Regions from separate parts of the Homo sapiens genome. Here regions 2, 3, 4, 5, 6 and 7 are each linked to region 1. The links are contacts of gene promoters, found by promoter capture Hi-C in blood cells and fetal thymus (Javierre and others, 2016). All regions are on one chromosome and are shown on one strand. Each heading gives the region's core, a stretch centred on a gene start or on the middle of the fragment in contact. The rest is flanking DNA. Distances are from core to core; before and after follow the strand shown.

The links. Contacts are between HindIII fragments. The CHiCAGO score rates a contact against its expected background, and 5 or more counts as called.
Region 2: a contact is called between a fragment that was not itself captured here and the fragment with the promoter of HOMER3 in region 1, in 7 of 17 cell types (total B cells, fetal thymus, naive CD8 T cells and 4 more). The highest score is 7.7, in total B cells.
Region 3: a contact is called between a fragment that was not itself captured here and the fragment with the promoter of HOMER3 in region 1, in 5 of 17 cell types (naive B cells, total CD8 T cells, naive CD4 T cells and 2 more). The highest score is 6.8, in naive B cells.
Region 4: a contact is called between a fragment that was not itself captured here and the fragment with the promoter of HOMER3 in region 1, in 6 of 17 cell types (non-activated CD4 T cells, naive CD8 T cells, total CD4 T cells and 3 more). The highest score is 7.5, in non-activated CD4 T cells.
Region 5: the fragment with the promoter of ELL here is called in contact with the fragment with the promoter of HOMER3 in region 1 in 8 of 17 cell types (erythroblasts, activated CD4 T cells, non-activated CD4 T cells and 5 more); the score reaches 8.2 in erythroblasts.
Region 6: a fragment that was not itself captured here is called in contact with the fragment with the promoter of HOMER3 in region 1 in 2 of 17 cell types (monocytes and total CD4 T cells); the score reaches 6.9 in monocytes.
Region 7: a contact is called between a fragment that was not itself captured here and the fragment with the promoter of HOMER3 in region 1, in 2 of 17 cell types (naive B cells and fetal thymus). The highest score is 5.9, in naive B cells.

What each region holds. Positions count from the first base shown.
Region 1 is chr19:18,939,956-18,942,655 of GRCh38, reverse strand. It overlaps HOMER3 (homer scaffold protein 3), which reads left to right and starts at 1,439. Exons shown (of 10, transcript NM_004838.4): 1 at 1,439-1,605. It overlaps HOMER3-AS1 (HOMER3 antisense RNA 1), which reads right to left and starts at 2,402. Exons shown (of 3, transcript NR_134913.1): 1 at 2,032-2,402. RefSeq lists a silencer at 1,276-1,475. The HindIII fragment of the contact is 10,102 bases long and covers 1-2,700 here.
Region 2 is chr19:18,494,525-18,497,224 of GRCh38, reverse strand. The region is part of intron 1 of ELL (elongation factor for RNA polymerase II); the gene reads left to right. Among named protein-coding and RNA genes, the nearest start is that of ELL, 26 kb to the left of the region's middle. RefSeq lists enhancers at 520-569, 1,305-2,204. The HindIII fragment of the contact is 7,208 bases long and covers 1-2,700 here.
Region 3 is chr19:18,457,966-18,460,665 of GRCh38, reverse strand. It overlaps ELL (elongation factor for RNA polymerase II), which reads left to right. Exons shown (of 12, transcript NM_006532.4): 6 at 2,337-2,461. Among named protein-coding and RNA genes, the nearest start is that of ISYNA1, 21 kb to the right of the region's middle. The HindIII fragment of the contact is 4,339 bases long and covers 1-2,700 here.
Region 4 is chr19:18,599,789-18,602,488 of GRCh38, reverse strand. CRLF1 (cytokine receptor like factor 1) reads left to right here. Exons shown (of 9, transcript NM_004750.5): 2 at 2,643-2,700. Among named protein-coding and RNA genes, the nearest start is that of CRLF1, 5.7 kb to the left of the region's middle. The HindIII fragment of the contact is 4,529 bases long and covers 1-2,700 here.
Region 5 is chr19:18,520,685-18,523,384 of GRCh38, reverse strand. ELL (elongation factor for RNA polymerase II) reads left to right here and starts at 1,315. Exons shown (of 12, transcript NM_006532.4): 1 at 1,315-1,464. The coding sequence starts at 1,330. RefSeq lists enhancers at 822-1,151, 1,295-1,810, 1,811-2,326 and silencers at 1,542-1,851, 2,582-2,631. The HindIII fragment of the contact is 8,691 bases long and covers 1-2,700 here.
Region 6 is chr19:18,575,511-18,578,210 of GRCh38, reverse strand. It overlaps UBA52 (ubiquitin A-52 residue ribosomal protein fusion product 1), which reads right to left. Exons shown (of 5, transcript NM_001033930.3): 5 at 661-2,700. Among named protein-coding and RNA genes, the nearest start is that of UBA52, 5.0 kb to the right of the region's middle. The HindIII fragment of the contact is 1,093 bases long and covers 791-1,883 here.
Region 7 is chr19:18,478,196-18,480,895 of GRCh38, reverse strand. The region is part of intron 1 of ELL (elongation factor for RNA polymerase II); the gene reads left to right. Among named protein-coding and RNA genes, the nearest start is that of ISYNA1, 41 kb to the right of the region's middle. RefSeq lists enhancers at 1,957-2,026, 1,440-2,342. The HindIII fragment of the contact is 2,666 bases long and covers 1-2,586 here.

The DNA.
Region 1 (2,700 bases), core at 190-2,689:
CAGGAGCAGAGGTCTTGGAGATGAAAAGCAAAAGCCTCTCTGAAGTTGTCAAAACACTCAAGTGTCGGCCAGGTGTGGTGGCTCACGTCTGTAATCCCAGGACTTTGGGAAGCCGAGGGGGGCAGATCACTTGAGGTCAGGAGTTCGAGACCAGACTGGCCAACATGGTGAAACCCCATCTCTACTAAAAATACAAAAATCAGCCAGGTGTGGTGGCATGCACCTGTAGTCCCAACTACTCGGGAGGCTGAGGCAGGAGAATTGCTTGAATCTGGGAGGCAGAGGCTGCAGTAAGCCGAGATTGTGCCACTGCACTCCAGCCTGGGCAACAGAGTGAGACTTTGTCTCAAAAAAAAGAAAAGAAAAGAAAAGAAAAACTCAAATGTAAGATCAGAGCTTTAGGGCGCCACAGGCCTTGGTTCCAGGGAGCTGCAGGACCTCTGTCCACAAACGAACCAACGGCGCCGCACCGTGTGATTTTGGAGACGGTGCCAGAGAGGGGGCGGCACCAGGATTGACAAGTGGGACACATGGGCTTGGGGCTGGGGAGGTGGATCCTAGTTCAACTCCGGAAGGATGCTCTCCTGGCAAGTGTGGGAAGGGGGTGCTCCCTGTGACCAGAGGTGACAAACGCAGGCCAGTGGAGGCTGAGGGGATGCAACCATGCGTTGGAGACATTTCCTCAGCCTTTGGATTTTGGAACCCTCAAACAACAGCAAAGATAACCTTAATCCAACCATTGTGGGCATTTTTACCATCGTCTTGGGAGGGACAGAGGTGGACAGACGTCCCTGCTTAGGGATGGGACGGGCAGGGGAACAGAGGCTTCTCTCTCTTTGTCTTGCTTCCCGTTCCCTCCCGAAGTTGATCTCTTCCGTTTCCTGGCAACACCCATTGAGCACTTACTGTATGCAGACCCTGAGACCCACTGCCCCCTCCCCAACCTCACTGGGCCACCCATGTCAGCCCGGGAGGGACCTGACCTCCCTCACAGGCCCAAAGTTATGACCTCAGGTAGTGGGGACAGAGGCAGCTGTCTCCTGAGAAGGTGACAGGAGGGTGAGGTCACATCGCTGTCCGTGCAACTCTCTCCATCTGCTTCCTATCTCTCCGCCTGTCTCCCCCGTGTCTCTGTTTCTGGGTCTCTTTCTCATCCCAGATGTCCCTCTCCGTCTGTCTCTCTGTCCCCACCCTCTGCTCCCAACCCGACCCCACGCAACCCCCCCCCCCACTCCCCCTCCACCGCCCCTAACCCCCTCCCTCAATCCTCCGTCCCTTCCCCAGTCCCGGCCCCCGCCCCTCCCCCTTATCCCCTCCCCCATACCCTCTCCCAGTGCAAAAAGCCGGCAGGGGGCGCAGCGGGGCGGCCTTGGCGGCCCGGGGAGGCGGGGCGGGCGGCGGCCGCGTCGGGACCGGCCGCGATGGGACCGGAGGCGGCGCGGGCGGCGGCGGCGCAGACAAAGGCACGGGCGGCGTGGAGGGCGGCGCGGAGGGCGCGGGCCCGGGAGCCAGGGAGCGAGCGGGGCGCCCGGCAGCGCGGAGTCAGCGCCGCGGGGGCCGCACCCGACTCGCGCCTGGACACTCGCGGGGCGCCGACCTGGCAGGGTGAGCCCGGCCTGCCGAGCCTGCGCTGGGAGCGCGGGGGCCTCGAAGTCCCAGGGCCAAGGGGAGGGCGTGGGGGTTCCCCAGAAGTTTCGGACCCGGGACTGGGAGCGGCGCGAGGGGTCCCCAAGTTCCAGGGCTGGAGGGAGCGCGGGGGTCCCGAAGTTCTGGATTCAGGGTCTGAGAGGGGACTGCGTGGGAGGTTCCCAAAGTTCTGGACCCGGCGTTGGAGGAGGCTGCGAAGAGGTCCCCAAAGCTGCGGACCTGGGGTGGGGTACTGGGGTGGGAGGGGTCCGGACGTCCCGGACCCAGGGACTGGAGGGGTGGCAGGGGGTCCTCGAAGTTTAGGAGTCTAGGACAACGCGGAGGACCGGGGTCCCGGACCCAGTTAGAGGAGGAGTCACGAAGGGAGTCCCCGGAGTTACCGACCTGGGGTTGGAGGAGGCAGAAGAGGTGTCCCCCGAAGTTCTGGACCCAGAGACAGGGGGCGTCGCGGGAATCTCGGAAGTTCCAGGGTCAGAGCCCGCGTCCCGGAGTTGGGGCGTGCACTGGGTGTCCTGCCTCGGGTGGGGATGGGATCCTGAATTAATATTAACCCCCCCGTCCCCCGCACTCGGGTGCATGGGATGGGGCCTCATCCACCGGCCAGATTGGGGATCCCGGGCACCGGGCGGTGTCGGACCCCCCTCCGGGAGCCCCGTGGCCGGCGGCATCCGAGGCGCATGACTAGTTGGTGAGTAACTTTCCCCAAACGCTGCAAGTCGCAGCAGGAGCTGCCGGACCGGAAGGGCCTGGGTTCCGGGGACCCCTGTGTTCCCCAACTCCCACCCGGCGCAGGACCCGCCCCCAGTCCAGGCCAGAGCTGCCGCCCCACCCCCACTCAGGGGCTCCGGTTTCAGACCCTGTGACCAGGACAGCAGCTGCCCAGGACAGGATAGGGGGGGCATCCCCCCTTTGACCACAGAGGCCGCTGGGCCAGGGCCTCCCCTCCCCCACCTGTCTTCCCCCTCCTCCAAACTCCTCCTTGGTCCCCTGCAGATTCGGGGTTGCTGAATGGCCCAATGGGGAGGTTGGGGAGCCCTGGTCTCCCAGTGTGGA
Region 2 (2,700 bases), core at 132-2,631, 450 kb after region 1:
CTTTGCATGGTTTCCTAGCTCATTTCTTGTTATATCCTGTTGTCTGGATGTGACATGGTTTATTTATCCATTCATCTACTGAAGGACATCTTGTTTGCTTCTGAGTTTAGGCAATGACAAATAAAGCTGCTGTAATTAGTATTTTTCATGTGGACGCACGTTTCCAGTGCCTCTGGGCAAATACCAAGGCGTGCAATTATTGCATTGGATGGTGAGAGTATGTTAGTTTAGTTTTTCAGGAATCTGTTGAGGCCGCACCATTTTGCATGTCCACCGGCAGTGAATGAGGTTCCTGTTGCCCCATGTCCTCACCAGCACTTGGTGCTGTCTGTTCTGAGTTTTGGGCATTCTAATAAGCATGTGGTGGTATCTCATTGTCATTTCAGACTAGACTTTTCCTTCTGGATTTTTTATATTATTGAAGTGATGTTTGCCCATAGTGGAAGACTTGGTATGACGGGCCACAGCCACAGGTTCCTGTGCTACCCGCCTGGCCTTGGCAAGGACCTCCCCCAGTCCGCACCACCTGAGTGGACAGCAGCAGCCTGGAGCTGGCCCCACCTGCTGGCAGGGGACACTGGGGAAGGGCCTGTGCCTGGACTTGTGCCAAACCCCAACCCTACTCCACGCCTCCAACCCATGATCTCTGTAGCTCCTGCCAAACTATATGTTTCTAATAAGGTAAAAAAAAAAAAAAGTTGTTACCTGCACTTGACCTGGTTTTATTTATTCTCGAGCCCAGGAAGACAGGCTCTGTTACCACAGGAAGTAGAGGAAGCACTCTGGGTGCAGTGTGAGGCTGAGTCTGGTCAGGTCTCTGTCTCCTGAGTCATCCCTCAGGGAGATTTTGAGCTCTTTCCTCACCCAGTGTCTCTGCACAGCAGCCCTTGAGCTCTTCCTGCATGCAGGGGAGTTTTCTGGATGAGGCAGTGGCCCGGCCACCTCTTGGGGCTCACGGGTGGCTCTTTTCACAACCACGCCCACACACTCAGGCATGGCCGTCACAGCTCTGGTATCAAGTTCTAATGTTTGGCCCAGTAGTACTGAAAGGTGCTTTTGTGGGGCGCAGCCATGGCCTCACCTGAGCCTCAGTTTCCCCATCCATAAGGAGGGAGTAACCCCATCTGTCCGGGAGGTTGTGGGGACCGAGTGGAGTGTCGGTGGCACTGTGCCTGCATCTCCACGCCCTCTGCAGTCCCCATATAAACCTCCCACATCACCTCCAAACGCCCACTGTGTGGAGCAGGTAGGGTAGGGGCTCACGGAGGCTAGCCCCTTTCAGGCCCATGTGGCGGGAGCCTGCTCCTCAGCCCTCCACCCTAAGCCTCATAGTCCAAGGTAAGATCAGAAGAGGCCTCAGTGGGCCTGCCCTGGCTGGCGCTGTCCATGTCCAAGTCTCCCCTACAGCCCAGGTCTTGGTCAGTATTGGGAAGCTGAGGCGCGTGGGACCTGCCTGCCTCCCCATCCCTCCACTGCAGTGCATACTGCCCCAGAGTGGCCACTCGTACAGGGGGCAGGGGGACTGGCTTCTGCTCACTCAGCCAGGGCTTGTGGCTCCTCCTCTTCTCCTCAGTGGGGCAGCCACTGCCGCCTGTCACTCTGCCTACCAGCCCTGTCTCCGCAGGCTCTCGGCCCTCCTCCTTCAGCTGCAGTGGGAGCTGGGCACCCTCATGCGGGGCGCTGCTTCCAAGAAGCCTTTAGGGTCCTCCTGACGCCTGAAGCAAGGAAGTTGCAAGCTGTGCTACTCAGGGCAGCTGGGTGGGTGTTGTGCCCTCCCTGATGGGGATGCGAGTGAGTGGGTGGGAATGGTGGGGCCCACCAACTCCTGCTTGGGCTTTTTGCTGCTGTTGCCAGTTCCTCTCCACACCCCAGCAGCCCAGGGTGCTGGTGATGTGCACGTGGGGCCAGGCCCTCCCCCAGATGCTCCCGAGCCTTGTCATGCCAGACACTGACCCTCCCCACTCCTCCACAGACCACCCCACAAGGCCTGCAGTCTCCTGGGGTCAGCTCGCCTCCTGCACTTCTGCTCTCGGCTCTCGGCTCAGTGGTCCCTAACCCTTGGCAGTTAGAACAGCCCTGCCAGGGGTCCCTGTGTCACTCTAGTTTTTGTCTACTCCAACATTTGTGCCCAGGGGCTCTGAATGGGCAGGGCCACATCTGTCTCCTTGGCTGATGAGTTCCCAGGGCCTAACATGTTATAGCCCACACCTTGATTGAGTTAGCGCCAGCCATATGCCCTGGACTTCTGCCTTGCTGTCTTTTTCAACTCTCAAATCCTGGGCACATGGTGGTTCTGAGATCACATCTGCCTAGAGGTACAGGGTAGAGTTGTCCAGATGCCACCCGGCTAGGGAAGTGGAGGAAGGTGAGGCTCCAGCTCAGGTACGGGTGGGGCCTCCCAAGCTCTGAAGGCAGAGACAGGAAGATGCCCCACCTGGTCAGAGCCCAGAAGGCTGGACAGTGGGGTCTGTCATCAGCACAGGTGGGGAGGGGGAGGGGAGGGCAGAGAGTGGGAATCAGAAATTAACTTCTGGCCTGGTGCGGTGGCTCATATGCCTGCAATCCCAGCACTTTGGGAGGCCAAGGTGGGCGGATCACTTGAGGTCAGATTATCGAGACCAGCCTGGCCAACACGGCAAAACCCTGTCTCTACTAAAAGTACAAAAATTAGTCAGGTGTGGTGGCAGGCATCCGTAATCC
Region 3 (2,700 bases), core at 187-2,686, 480 kb after region 1:
CATGTTTACGGAGCTCCTCATAGGCGTCCCTCTCGGGTGCGCGGCTGGTGGGACCCTGTTCCACATTCCTTGGGAGGATGTCAGCCTGGCCCTCGTCCACCCCCATCCTGCTCCCAAGGCTAGGGCTGGCATGGTGCCAGCAGGAGTTGCTGAAGGGAGCTCGATGGAGTCATCAGATGTGGGACCTGCATTGGCCTGGCCAGGAGGTGTCTGTGCTGGTGCCTGGCTTCTCCAGGTGACTTTGGTTCAGTGCCTCCTGGGAGCAGGCCTGGCCAGCATCTGCAGGCAGATTGTCCCTTCCTGTGCCACTGTGACTTCCCCTGGACAGCTCGTCTGCTTCTTGCTTCTATATTCATTATGCAGCTGCTTCCCCCCAAGCAGCTGTGGGGGTCAGCAGGACACTGTTGGCTTGTAGAAGAGGAGGGGGATGTGCCTCACCCAGACTGGTCATTTCCAGCCCCTCACAGGCCCTCAGACATGCTGAGGAATGGCAGTGACAAAACTGCATGCCTCAAAGGTGCTTGGCCCTCCCTCTGTGGAAAAATCTAGAGCAGAGATGGAAGGTGTCCACCTCTAGGACTGGCTGAGCCCCAGGGAAACCCGCAAGCCTATCCTTCAAGGGGAGGGGTGTTGACGGCTGAGTAATATTTAGCAAAGCCTGTCATGAGCCATAAAAATATTCAGCCTTTGACCTACTAATCTGGCTTCTGGGAATCCCGTCGAAGGAAACTGTTGCCAACCTGAAAAAAACTGCACACAGTAATGTCTGTTTATGCTACAGAGAAACTGGCAGCAGTTTGGGGGTGGGATATTACTCAACTGTTAAAAATGCTCCCCATGGGCCGGGCGCGGTGGCTCACGCCTGTAATCCCAGCACTTTGGGAGGCCGAGGCAAGTGGATTACGAGGTCAGGAGATCGAGACCATCCTGGCTAACATGGTGAAACCCCATCTCTACTAAAAATACACACACAAAAAAATTAGCCGGGCGTGGTGGCGGGTGCCTGTAGTCCCAGCTACTCCAGAGGCTGAGGCTGGAGAATGGCGTGAACCCGGGAGGCGGAGCTTGCAGTGAGCCAAGATAGCGCCATTGCACTCTAGCCTGGGCAACTGAGCGAGACTCCATCTCAAAAAAAAAAAAAAAATGCTCCCCATGGGATACGCTGTGACGCAGAGCCATGTCAGATGCAGCAGAAAACAGTGACTGCTATGCCTGCAGCAAGATGGAGACCAGAGTGCCCTGTAGGCCAGCACGCAGCACCCACTCAGGGCAGTGACCTGGAGCTTCCTCAGATCCCTCTAAGGCAGACGTTCTGAATCCATCTTTGTTAGCAGTCTGGGAGACGAACTTAGCTTTGGTCAACCGGCAACAGCAAGGCAGGCTGGTTGTAGGGAAGGTGGGCTCAGACGTGGCCCCAGAGGTACCCCTCACCCAGCATCCCCAGCCGTGGCTGACTCTTCCCTGGGAGTTGTGATCAGAAATGGGGTGGAGCCCAGCGCGGTGGCTCACGCCTGTTTCCAGCACTTTGGGAGGCTGAGGTGGGAGGATCCTTGAGGCCAGGAGCTCGAGACCAGCCTATGCAAAATACTGAGATCCTATCTATACAAAAAATTAGCTGGGTATGATAGTGCATGCTTATAGCCCACCTACTTGGGAGACTGAGGCAAGAGGATCGCTTGAGCCCAGGAGTTTGCAGCTACAGTGAACCTTGATCACACCACTGCACTCCAGCCTGGAAGAAATAGGAGCCAGGTGTGGTGGCTGGAATCCCAGCACATTGGGAGGCTGAGATCAGAGGATCGCTTGAGCCCAGGGGTTCAAGACAAGCCTGGACAACATAGCGAGATCCCATCTCTTAAAAAAAATTAGCTGGAGTATAGTGGTGCACACCTGTGGCCCCACCTACCTGGGAGGCTGACGTGGGAGGGTCGCTTGAGCACAGGAGGTCTAGGCTATAGTGAGCTAAGATCTTGTATCAAAAAAGGAAAAAAAGCAGGCTAGAGGGGCCAGGGGGCAGGTGATGGGGTCTCAGTACTGCAGGTGGTAGCCCTCCCCTTTTTGGAGCCAGCCTGGCCCCAGCACCTCTAAGACAGTTGAGTCTGGACCTGCCTTCATGACCCTCATTATCCCTTCTGCACCCTGAGGATTGTGTGCGGGGGAACTGGGGGTGGGAGACATCACGGATCGGTAGTGGGCCATCCTCTTTCCTCTCCTCTGTCTCTGTCTGTCTCCCACTGTCTCTGCACACCCTCCCAAACCCACTATCAGATCTTTTTTCTCTAGTCCCCCGTCTCTCTCAGGATTCCCACAAAGTGATGGCTGGCTCTGTCTTGCAGGTGGCCAACATGAGTGCTAAGGACGGCACGTGTACACTGCAGGACTGCATGTACAAGGATGTGCAGAAGGACTGGCCTGGCTACTCGGAGGGGGACCAGCAGCTGCTGAAGCGGGTGCTCGTCCGGTAATGCCGCCTCCCATCCCCCAGCATGTCCCCACCCGCATGAAGGCAGCCAGAGCTTACCCAGAGGATGCTGGGGTGGTCTTGTGTGGTCCTGAAGGCCACAGGGCTTGGGAGCAGGATGGAAGGGTCCAAGTAGGCCTCTCTGGCCATCCTCCCTACTGCCCACGTGGTGCCCCAGGGTGTCCCGTGGTGGGGGAAGGCCACGCTCACAGAGTGGGACGGAGGTGTGAGTCACTGGC
Region 4 (2,700 bases), core at 201-2,700, 340 kb after region 1:
GGGGCCACCACCCCCTCCCCACCTGGCTAATTTTTGTATTTTTGGTAGAGACAGGGTTTCACCATGTTGCCCAGGCTGTCTCAAACTCTTGACCTCACGTGATCCTCCCACCTCAGCCTCTCAAAGTGCTGGGATTACAGGCATGAGCCACCGCACCCAGCCAACCCCATGACATTGACGCCATGATGTCCACTTTCCAGATGGGGAAACTGAGACTCAGAGAGGCATTGGGAGGTTGGCCTGTGCACCCCCTCCTCCTCTGGGCCTTGGTTTCCCTATGGACAAGGTTCTGGTCTCCAGAAGGGGAACTCCTGGGCTGCCCTGATGGCCAGCAGGAGAGAGAGGCATCAACCACCCATGGGCGTCCCCAAGTTTCCTGTGCCTAGTACCTGACTCACACACAACCTGGTTCAGGAAGTCCTTTCCCCTCTGACTTTCACAATACCCCAGGAGACAAAGAGCTTTCTCGTTCTCACTTTGCAGATGAGGAAAACTGAGTGGAGGGAAACAGCGATGATGTCAAGTCCCTTTGGATGGGAGTTGGGGACGTGCAGTTTGCCAGGGCTGCCTTTAGTTCCAGAGGTAGGCAGTGTGGAACAGAACTTTGGAGACCAGAAAATCTGGGCCTAACTAGTATGGCCTTCCCTCATTCCAGCAAGGAAACTCCATCTTTCAGAGCCGGAGTTTTTTCATCTTTAACATATAAGCAGGATTGGCCGAGAAAATGTAGGTAGTCTTAGCCCAGTATTCAGAACACAACAAGTGCTCAATAAATGGTGCTGTTAGGCCAGGCGCAATGACTCACGCCTGTCATCCCAGCACTTCGGGAGGCTGAGGCGAGTGGATCACTTGATGTCAGGAGTTCGAGACCAGCCTGGCCAACATGGCGATTCTTGGACTCTACTAAAAATACAGGCTGGGCGCGGTGGTTCACCCCTGTAATCCCAGCACTTTGGGAGGCTGAGGCAGGCGGATCACAAGGTCAGGAGTTCGAAACCAGCCTGACCAGCACGGTGAAACCACATCTCTACTAAAAATACAAAAATTAGCCGGGCACGGTGATGTGTGCCTGTAATCCCAGCTACTCGGGAGGCTGACGCAGGAGAATCACTTGAACCTGGGAGGCGGAGATTGCGGTGAGCCGAGATCGTGCCATTGCACTCCAGCCTGGGCAACAAGAGCAAAACTCCGTCTCAAAAAAAAAAAAAACATGGTGCTCTTAATGATTCAAGTAAGGGTCAGGGCTTTCATTTTAAGCAGTGCCCTTCCCCCACAGAAACACCTACTATGTGTGAGGCTCTGGGAGCATCACAGGAAGAACCCACAATCTTTTGTTTCTAGTTGCCAAAAAAGAAAAACAAAATGAGAATGAAAAATAAAGAAGGCTAGGCACCGAAGCTCATGCCTGTGATCCCAGGACTTTGGGAGGCCAAGGTGGGAGGATCGCTTGAGGCCAGGAGTTCAAGACCGGCCTGAGCAAACTAGCGAGACCTCATCTCTAAAAAAATATTTAAAAATCAGCCAGGTGTGGTGGTGCACACCTGTAGTCCCAGCTACTTGGGAGCTGAGATGAGGGAGGATCACTTGAACCCAGGAGATCGAGGCTGCAGTGAGCTATGATCGTGCCACTGCACTCCAGCCTGGCCAACAGAGTGAGACCCTGTCGCTAAAAAAATAAAAAGCAAAGCATGCCTGGGTGTATTGGCTCACTCCTGTAATCCCAGCACTTTGAGAGGCCGAGGGAGGTGGATCACGAGGTCAGGAGTTCAAGACCAGCCTGGCCAATATGGTGAAACCCCGTCTCTACTAAAAATACAAAACTTGGCCAGGCGCAGTGGCTCACGCCTGTAATCCCAGCACTTTGGGAGGCCCATACGGATGGATCATGAGGTCAGGAGATCGAGACCATCCTGGCTAACATGCTGAAACCCCGTCTCTACTAAAAATACAAAAAATTAGCCAGGCGTGGTGGCGGGCGCGTAGTCCTAGCTACTTGGGAGGCTGAGGCAGGAGAATGGCATGATCCCGGGAGGCGGAGCTTGCAGTGAGCCGAGATCGTGCCACTGCACTCCAGCCTGGGCGACAGAGCAAGACTGCGTCTCAAAAAAAAAAAAATACAAAAGTTAGTCAGGCATGGTGGTGCACACCTGAAGTCCCAGCTACTCGGGAGGCTGAGGCAGAAGAATTGCTTGGACCCGGGAGGCGGAGGTTGCAGTGAGCCGAGATCGTGCCACTGCACTCCAGCCTGGGCGACAGAGCGAGACTCCGTCTCAAAAAAAAAAAGCAAAGCATAGTGTTTGTCATAACGATGTGCTAAGCAAGAGTCACTTGGATCCGAATGAGCCTCTATGCCCGAGTTGTGTGACCCCTCAGAGAACCTTAAGCATGTCAGTGATGAAGAGTTTTGGAAGGATCCAGTGTTGGAGTCAGACAGACCTGGACAACTCCAGGTCTGTCAGTTTGGCCACCAGTGTTGCCCTGGGCATTTAACCCAACTGATCTCTACCTTCCCTATCTGTAAAATGGGGGACAATCATTAACAGCGTCTTTTCAGGACCACCATGAACCCTGGAGGTCCTGGCATGGTTGGGGGCTTGGAGGGTCCCCGCCCTGGCCTGACACGTGTTCCTCTTTGACCCCAGACACAGCTGTGATCAGTCCCCAGGATCCCACGCTTCTCATCGGCTCCTCCCTGCTGGC
Region 5 (2,700 bases), core at 66-2,565, 420 kb after region 1:
TGAGCCGAGATCACACCACTGCACTCCAGCCTGGGCAAGGAAATCGAAACTCTGTCTAAAAACAAACAAACAAACAAAAACTGGGGGAGGTGGCTCACGCCTGTAATCCTAGCACTTTGGGAGGGCGAGGCGCGCGGATCACCTGAGGTCAGGAGTTCAAGACCAGCCTGGTCAACATGGTGAAACCCCATCTCTACTAAAATACAAAAATTAGCTGGGCATGATGGCGGGCGCCTGTAATCCCAGCTACTCGAGAGGCTGAGACAGGAGAATCGCTTGAATTCAGGAGACGATGGTTGCATTGAGCCGAGATAGCGCCACTGTTCTCCAGTCTGGGCTGATGAGCAAGACTCCGTCTCAAAAAAAAAAAAAAAGAAAAGAAAAGAAAATGGAAGTCTGGGCTTGGTGGCTCACTCCTGTAATCCTAGCATTTCAGCAGACCCAGACAAGGAGGATCAGTTTGAGTTCAGGAGGTCGAGGGTGCAGTGAGCCATGATGGCGCCATTGCACTCCAGCCTGGGCAACACAGCAAGACCCCTCAAAAAAAAATTAAAATAGGAAAATGAAGCTGGACTGCACCATCGCTCAGGGACTGTGGGGATGTAGGATTTTATCCTATTAAAAGTACTCATCTCATAAGAAAAAGTTTACCAGCTCCTCTTCCACCTACCGGTCCAGCACCTTCCCTGGGTGGAAGTCCCATCCACCCCGCCTAAGGGATGCCTTATGTGTCCAACCCAGCGTCCAACGCGCGCGCTCCGTTTACATAGCCACGCCCACCCTCCCGGCCCGCGGCGGGGCCTACCCACCCACGTGTTTCGAGCCGGCTCCGCCCCTCCACGCCCTCTCTGCGGCTTTCCACAGAAGCCAAAGACGGAAGACTGTAGAGATCTCATAAATAATGCATCACGTCAGCGGCTGTAGGGGCGGGGCTTTGACGCGCCTGGCTGGCTGAGTCAGGGTTATGTATAATACTATGGAGGCGGGGCCTGGAGGGGTGCGCGTGTTGAGGCGGAGTTCGTTCACGGAAGTGGCCACCCCTAGGGCCTGAAGAGGCGGGGCCATAAGTGCCTTATGAATATGCAACAACTTGGGGCGTTGACTGTGGGCCTTGTGGGGCCCTCATGGGGCGTGGCCAGGCGCGTCTCCTGAATAATGTAGTGCGCTGCCTGCCGGTGTGGCGGCGACTGTTGGTTTGGTCGGACTCGGGGGGCGTGGCCAGCCGCGTCTCATGAATAATGCAGCGCGTCAGCGGGCGGCGGGGCGGGGCGTGGCCGGCGTGGCGGCGCTGGAGCCGGGAAGGGGGCGCGGGGGAGAGATGGTCGCAAGATGGCGGCGCTGAAGGAGGATAGGAGCTACGGGCTGTCGTGCGGGCGGGTTAGCGACGGCAGCAAGGTGTCGGTGTTCCACGTGAAGCTCACCGACAGTGCCCTGAGGGCCTTCGAGAGCTACCGCGCCAGACAGGTGAGTGGCATGGCGCCCGGCGCGCCAGTGGGGAACGTCCGGACGCGGGCCGGCCTCGCGCTCCCCTCACTGAGGCGTCCGGGCTCGGAGACGCTAGGTCTGTGGTGCTGCTCGCGGGTCCCTGGGCCGGCGGGGCGCGGAGTGGGCGCCAGTCCGGCCTGGAGCGCTGAGAACCGCGTTCCTTCTCAGCACTAGGAGGCAATACAGGCGGGTGGCCCGGGGCTGCTGAGGGGCCCAGACTCGCGCGCCGGGCCCGGGGGGCGTCGGTGTCGGCACCTGGCGGCGTCCGGGGCCTTTCTGGCCTGCTGGGCACCTGGGCAGGGTCCAGTTTGCGCACCTGGCGGCGGGGCGAGGAGGCGGTGGGCCGCACGGTCCCGGCACCGTGATAGGGGGAAGCTGGGGGCTTTTCCATCTGGGGCCGGGGCAGCGCCGTTGGTGGGGGTGACTGTGTCTGTCCTCCTGGGAAGCAGCGATCGTCTGGGTGCCCGGCAGGGGGTGGTCAGCGAGGCACTTGTGGGGGTCTGTTCTGTCTGGGTGGAAGGCTTTGCAGCTGGGGGCTGGCTTTGACGCGTTCCGATGAAGCCACTCAGGTTGGGCCACTTTGGTTCTTGGGACGGGGAGTTTGGGCAGAAACTGACAGCTTGTCCCAGCTTTCTGCTCCCCTTACCCCCAGGTGACCCTCTCTCTCCGGAGAGAGGTTCCTTGGAGAGTGGAAGTGTTGGGGGCGGCTGTGATGTTATCCTCAGGGCACATGTAGGGGATCCCTGCCACCCAGGAGGAAGCTCTGGCTACCACATCTGGCCGCTGACTCTGGAACTTCTCAGAGGCCGATTTGGGCCCATCTGGGGGAAGTTTGAGGCGTTTCGGTTCTGCCACCTGGCTGGTGGTGGGGAGGGGAGGCTGCTGTGTATGTTCTCTTGGGCCTGACTTTGGGGCGCATCTGGGGCCGTGGTCAGAAACCTGCCTTTTTCATTTCTGTTTGTGTCATGGCCCCCCCTCCCCCCGTCTGTGCTGGGTCAGAAGTTGCAGATGACCAGTGGTCAGGTCCCGAGGGGAAGTGGTTTAGGAACCTTGTAACTCCTTTTCTGGAAATTGGGGGCTTCATTGCCCTAAAGGGAGTGGGGGTGGGTCTAGTCTCGGGCTCAGAGAGCCCTGCTCCCTGCGTGTGTGTGTGTTTGTGTATACTGTTGATGGTGGGGGTGGGGGGGTGCCGCGGGCGGGGGAGGAGGGAGACTA
Region 6 (2,700 bases), core at 88-2,587, 360 kb after region 1:
GGGAGGTTGAGGTTGCAGTGGGCCAAGATCGTGCCGCTGCACTCCAGCCTGGGCGTCAGAGCGAGACTCCATCTCAAAAAAAATAAAAAAATAAGCCATGGCACATCAGGAACACAGATCTGAGGGTTGCCATCCTAATTGTTTTAGATTCCTAATCCAGAGGGTTTTCATCCTGGGGGTAGAGAGAATCCTGGAGACAAGTTCTCAAGAAAGTCTTCCTTATAGACGTTTGGACCTAGGAGGCATGCCTCTCGAAGGGTGGGTGAAGTGCGTTTGGGTGGCTGTTTAACAAAGGTTTCACAAAGCGCTGTCATCTCGACTGGGCGTTACCAGGAGCTTGGGGCCACTGTTTTCCACCCTTGGCCAGCCCTCGGTTCAACCCAGAAAATGCAGAGAAAGTGGGAACTGGTTTCTAGGCAAAACAACACTCTCGATTCAGAAGGGCTGGGGGTTGTTAGAGAGCCCTTTCTCAGATACCCTTACATCTGTGTCTTTAGTCAGGCGGCGGCACTTGTCGCTTTTAAATGGCCGACAGGTGCCCGGTGTTTGCCCTCAATTCTAAAGAAAAGTAGAGCAGAGTAGCAAGCGAAAGAGGTCCGATGTTACCGCTTTGGAAATCCTGGGTGAGCCCCCACGATGAGTCAGTTTCTCCTGCCGATGGGTTCCTGGTCTCGCTAACTTTGAAGAATGAAGCTGCGGACCTTTGCGGGGAGTGTTAACAGTTCAAAAAGAGTCCACGGACCAGGAGAGTGAGCAGCAGCTGTTTATTGAATGAAGCGAAAGGAAAGCTTCCACATGCTGGAAGGGGACCCAGAAGGGTTGCCATTGCTAGCTTGGGCGGCTAGAGCTCATATCCCTGTTACTCCCTCCCCTTTCTTTCTTTTTGTCCATTAAGAGTGGTTCTTCCTTCAATCCCCCCTTGGAGTGGTTAATTTTGAATCCTTCATTCGATCAGTTAAGAACTCAAAACCCTGAGTCATGGGGGTCTTTTGTGAAAGTCCCCAAACTGGCCCAGGAAGTCCCGCCAACTCCACCCCTCATTAGGATGCATCACTGGCCTCGTGCACCGGCTTCACCAGCACTGCACCCTAATCAAAACAGGGGCCAGCAAGGTGCCTCACCCCTGTAATCCCAGCACTTTGGGAGGCTGCGGCAGAACTGCTTGGACCCAGTGCAAAACCATTCTGGGCAACATAGCGAGACCATGTCTGTAAAAAAAAAAAAAAAAAAAAAAATGTAGCAAGGCCAGGCGCTGTGGCTTACGCTTGTAATCCTAGCACTTTGGAAGGCCAAGACAGGTAGATCACAAGAGGTCAGTAGTTCAAGACCAGCCTGGCCAACATAGCAAAACCCTGTCTCTACTAAAAACAGAAAAACTAGCCAGGCGTGGTGGTGGTGGCGCACACTGGTAATTCCAGCTACTCAAGAGGCTGAGAAAGGAGAATCGCTTGAACCCGAGAGGCAGAAGCTGCAGTGAGCCGAGACTGCGCCACCGCACTCCAGCCTGCACGATGGGAGCAAGGCTCCATCTCAAAAAAAAAAAAAAAAAGTGATAAAAAACCAAAACTAAACAGGAGGCTTTTAAGTTCAGGAGTTTGAAGCCAGCCTGGGCAACATAGCAAGACCCCATCTCTACAAAATATTAACCGAGTGTGGTGGCACAAGCATGCAGTCCCAGCTACTCGGGAGGCTGAGGCAAGATCCTGGGAGATCAAGGCTGCAGCAAGCTATGATCCTACCACTGCACCCCAACCTGGGTGACAGTGAGACTGTCTCAAAATTTTAAATCAGTAAATAAAACAGGAATTGGTCTGTGCTCACCCCATCTAAAAAACTCTTGACCTTATGATTTGCCCACCTCAGCCTACTGATCATTACAAGCTTTAAAAACACCAAAGCAATTATCTGAGTGTGGTGGTGGGTGCACACCTGTAGTCCTGGCTACTTCGGAGGCAAAGGAGAGAGGATCACCCAAGCCTGAGTTCCAGGGTACAGGGAGCCATGACCACACCACTGCATTCCAGCCTGGGTGACCTTAAGGGGAAAACACCAAGGGTTGCCCTTCTTAAGAGTGATTATCATAGGAGAGGGTACAGCTCAGGGGCAGAGCACTGACTGCAGACCATGAGTGATGTCACGGCCTCAGATTCAAAACTGAGTAACTGGGCCAGGCGTGCTGGCTCACGCCTGTAATACCAGCATTCTGGGAGGCCAAGGCGAATGGATCACAAGGTCAGGAGATCGAGACCAACCTGGCTAACCCAGTGAAACCCCGTCTCTACTAAAAATACAAAAAATTAGCCAGGAGTTGTGGCGGGCACCTGTAGTCCCAGCTACTCGGGAGGCTGAGGCAGGAGAAGGATGTGAACCCCGGAGGCAGAGGTTGTAGTAAGCCGAGACTGCGCCACTGCACTCCAGCCTGGGCGACAGAGCAAGACTCCGTCTCAAAACAAACAAACAAACAAACAAACAAAAAACTGAGAACTGGGTCAGGCATGGCAGTTCTTGCTTGTAATCCCAACACTTTGAGGGGCTGAGATGGGCGGATGGCTTGAGCCCAGGAGTTCAAGACCAGCCTGGACAACATAGTGAGACCCCATTTGTATAAAATAAAAAAATTTGAGAATCAACGTTCTACACCATTGGGTGTACCTAATTTTCTACCCATCTCCACACACCTAGACACTTCAGGGCCAAGGC
Region 7 (2,700 bases), core at 4-2,503, 460 kb after region 1:
TTGGGAGGCTGAGTCTGTCGAGTTGCTTGAACCTAGGAGTTCAAGTCCAGCCTGGGCAACATGGCAAAACCCTATCTCTACAGAAAATAGAAAAATTAGCCAGGTGTGTTGGTGTGTGCCTGTGGTCCCAGCTACTCGGGAGCTGAGGCAGGAGGATCACCTGAGCCTAGAAGGTCGAAGCTGCAGTGAGCCGTGTTCACACCACCGCACTCCAGCCTGGGTGACAGAGTGAGAGCTTATCTCCAAAAAGAAAGAAAGAAAAAAAATACTTGCTATGCCGGCCACTGAATTACACTTGGCTTGTAGCCAGTTGGAGTCCCTTTCCTGCTCTTACAGGCCCACCTGGCCTGCTGAACACACCATCTGTCCTCCCAGGCTGGCAGAGGAGCTGCCGTGGGTCCTGCCCTCTGCTCTGCCCTGACCGTGGCCACCTGGTTCCCTAGGCTGGAACCAGTGAGGTCCACAATGTGTCTGTCCAAGTTCCCTAGCTCGTCCCTGAGCCAACCAAGCTCACTGGGCAGATCTTCCTTTGTTTTGTAGTTCACGGAGACAGCCCCACTCAGTCACTGTCTAAACTCTCCGTGGCCTCAATGTCCTGCTCCAGTCCTGCCAGGAAGTCTCAAGGAGGATTCCTGAATAGCGTTTCCCAATCATTTGTGCTTTACTGGAAAGGGGGGGCCTGTTGTGGGGAGGCCACCGTCCAGGGCTCTTCCCGGGACTTCACCTTCCCTCTGCTGGACCACACGCCGTGGCTTGGCAGGGTGACCCAGCTCTGTAAGATCAGGACGTGTGTGCTGACACTGGTGCTTGGGAGAGTCAGCAAGATGGACTTCTGAAGAAGGAACAGATGCATTCCTTTCTGTCATTTCCTGCATCAGGGGTGGGGTGGCAGGCCTTGCCCAGTAGACAGCAGGGAGAACGTGCTGCCTGGGGAGAGTGGGCACTTCTGCTGAGTGGGTGCTTCTGGAGGGTGGTGGGAAGGATCATGTGTCTTTGGGGCAGCCTTGGCACCTGCTGCCTTGGGCCTCATTGTCCCCAGGCTGGTAGCAGGTATCCTGGGACCTGGCCAGATTGGGCCCCGTCCATCTGTCTGTGTGTCTCATCTCTTCACTGTGCCCTCTCCCTAGTTTCTGTCTTTGCTGGAGAGTTTTTAAAACAATCCTAGATTTTTTTTTTTTTTTTTTTTTGAGATGGAGTCTCACTCTGTCGTGCAGGCTGGAGTGCAGTGGCTTGATCTCAGCTCACTGCAACCTCCGCCTACCGGGTTCAAGCAGTTCTCCTGCCTCAGGCTCCCGAGTAGCTAGGATTATAGGCGTATGCCACCATGCCTGGCTAATTTTTGTATTTTTAGTAGAGATGGAGTTTCACCATGTTGGTCAGGCTGGTCTTGAACTCCTGACCTCAAGCAGTCCACCTGCCTCAGCCTCCCAAAATGCTGGGATTACAGGTGTGAGGTACCATGCCTGGCCAACAATCAGATACGTTCTTCTTCACCCGTAACTTTTCCATTTATATTTTATATTTGTTGAAGGGAGCAGGTCTTTTTTCCCATAGATTTTTCTGCTTTCTGCTCTGATGGTCGCTTCCCGTGGCAGGGTCAGCCCAGGGCTTCTCAGCCCCTGCACTGCTTGACATTTGGGGCAGGAGGTTCTGTGTTGCCTGCAGTGTGCTGAGCAGCATCCCTGGCCTCCCCCGAGCCAGATGGTGGGGACTGTCCCCGCCCTCAGTGGTGAGGACCAGAAATGGCTCCAGACATTGCCTCGTGCCCTGGGGAAGATTCACCCACCACACTTCCTGTAAACTGGTCACTCGGCCTGGAGGTGGATTTCGTAAGCCACTTCCTGTTGCTTCATCCCCGGAAGTGCTCTTTGCCGGAGGGGAGAGGATCAGGGGATTCTGGCCCTGGAGAGGTTCCTCCTCACCCTTTCCTCTGTCTCAGCATTGAGGACTCTCACTGCCTCCCAGGCTCTGCACCCTCGACCCTTTTCCCAAAGGCATTGCTGTCTTTACAGGAGTGTCCTCATTGAGGGGGAGCTGCCTACAGGAGTCTCCCAGTCTGTGTTCAGTAGCCCCAGTGGGCGCCCAGGCCAAGTGACCGCAGGGCGCAGGCATCACTGCCCTGCTGTGTTGAGGTCTGTTCTCCGAGTCAGGGTCTGAAGTCCAGTTGGGTCTGGGGAGCACCAGCCTCGGCACAGCTCAGTGCCTGCCTGTCCGGCCTTGAAGACCCAGCTGACCTGCTGACTGTGTCAGGCCAGCTGTGGCGGCCCTACCAGGCTCCCCAGCTCCCACCTGGGGCCCTGGCCTGAAGTACAGCAGCGGGGGTGACTTTGTATCTCAGGAGCTCCCAGTTCCATACCTCATGCTGGGTAATGAAAGTTGGATTTTTGCCACTCGAGGGCCTGAGAGGACTTGTGGGGGTGATGACCCCTCAGAGGGTCTACAGAGACTGGGCAGGCGGTGGCCTGAGGCATGGCTCTCCCCTGCTGGGTGTTCTTGGGTGTGAGATGGGCAGTACCCTGCAGGTGTCATGTGCTACTGAGTTACCCCGTTATTTAATTAATGCAGCCTGAGGCCAACCCCAAAGCTTCTAAGGCAGCAGGGAAATCACCTGTGCTACAGTCTGTTCCTGACCCTCTGTCCTGCTTCATAGATGAGGTAACGAGGCGCTTGGCCCCCCTGACAAGGGTTCGGCCATGACAC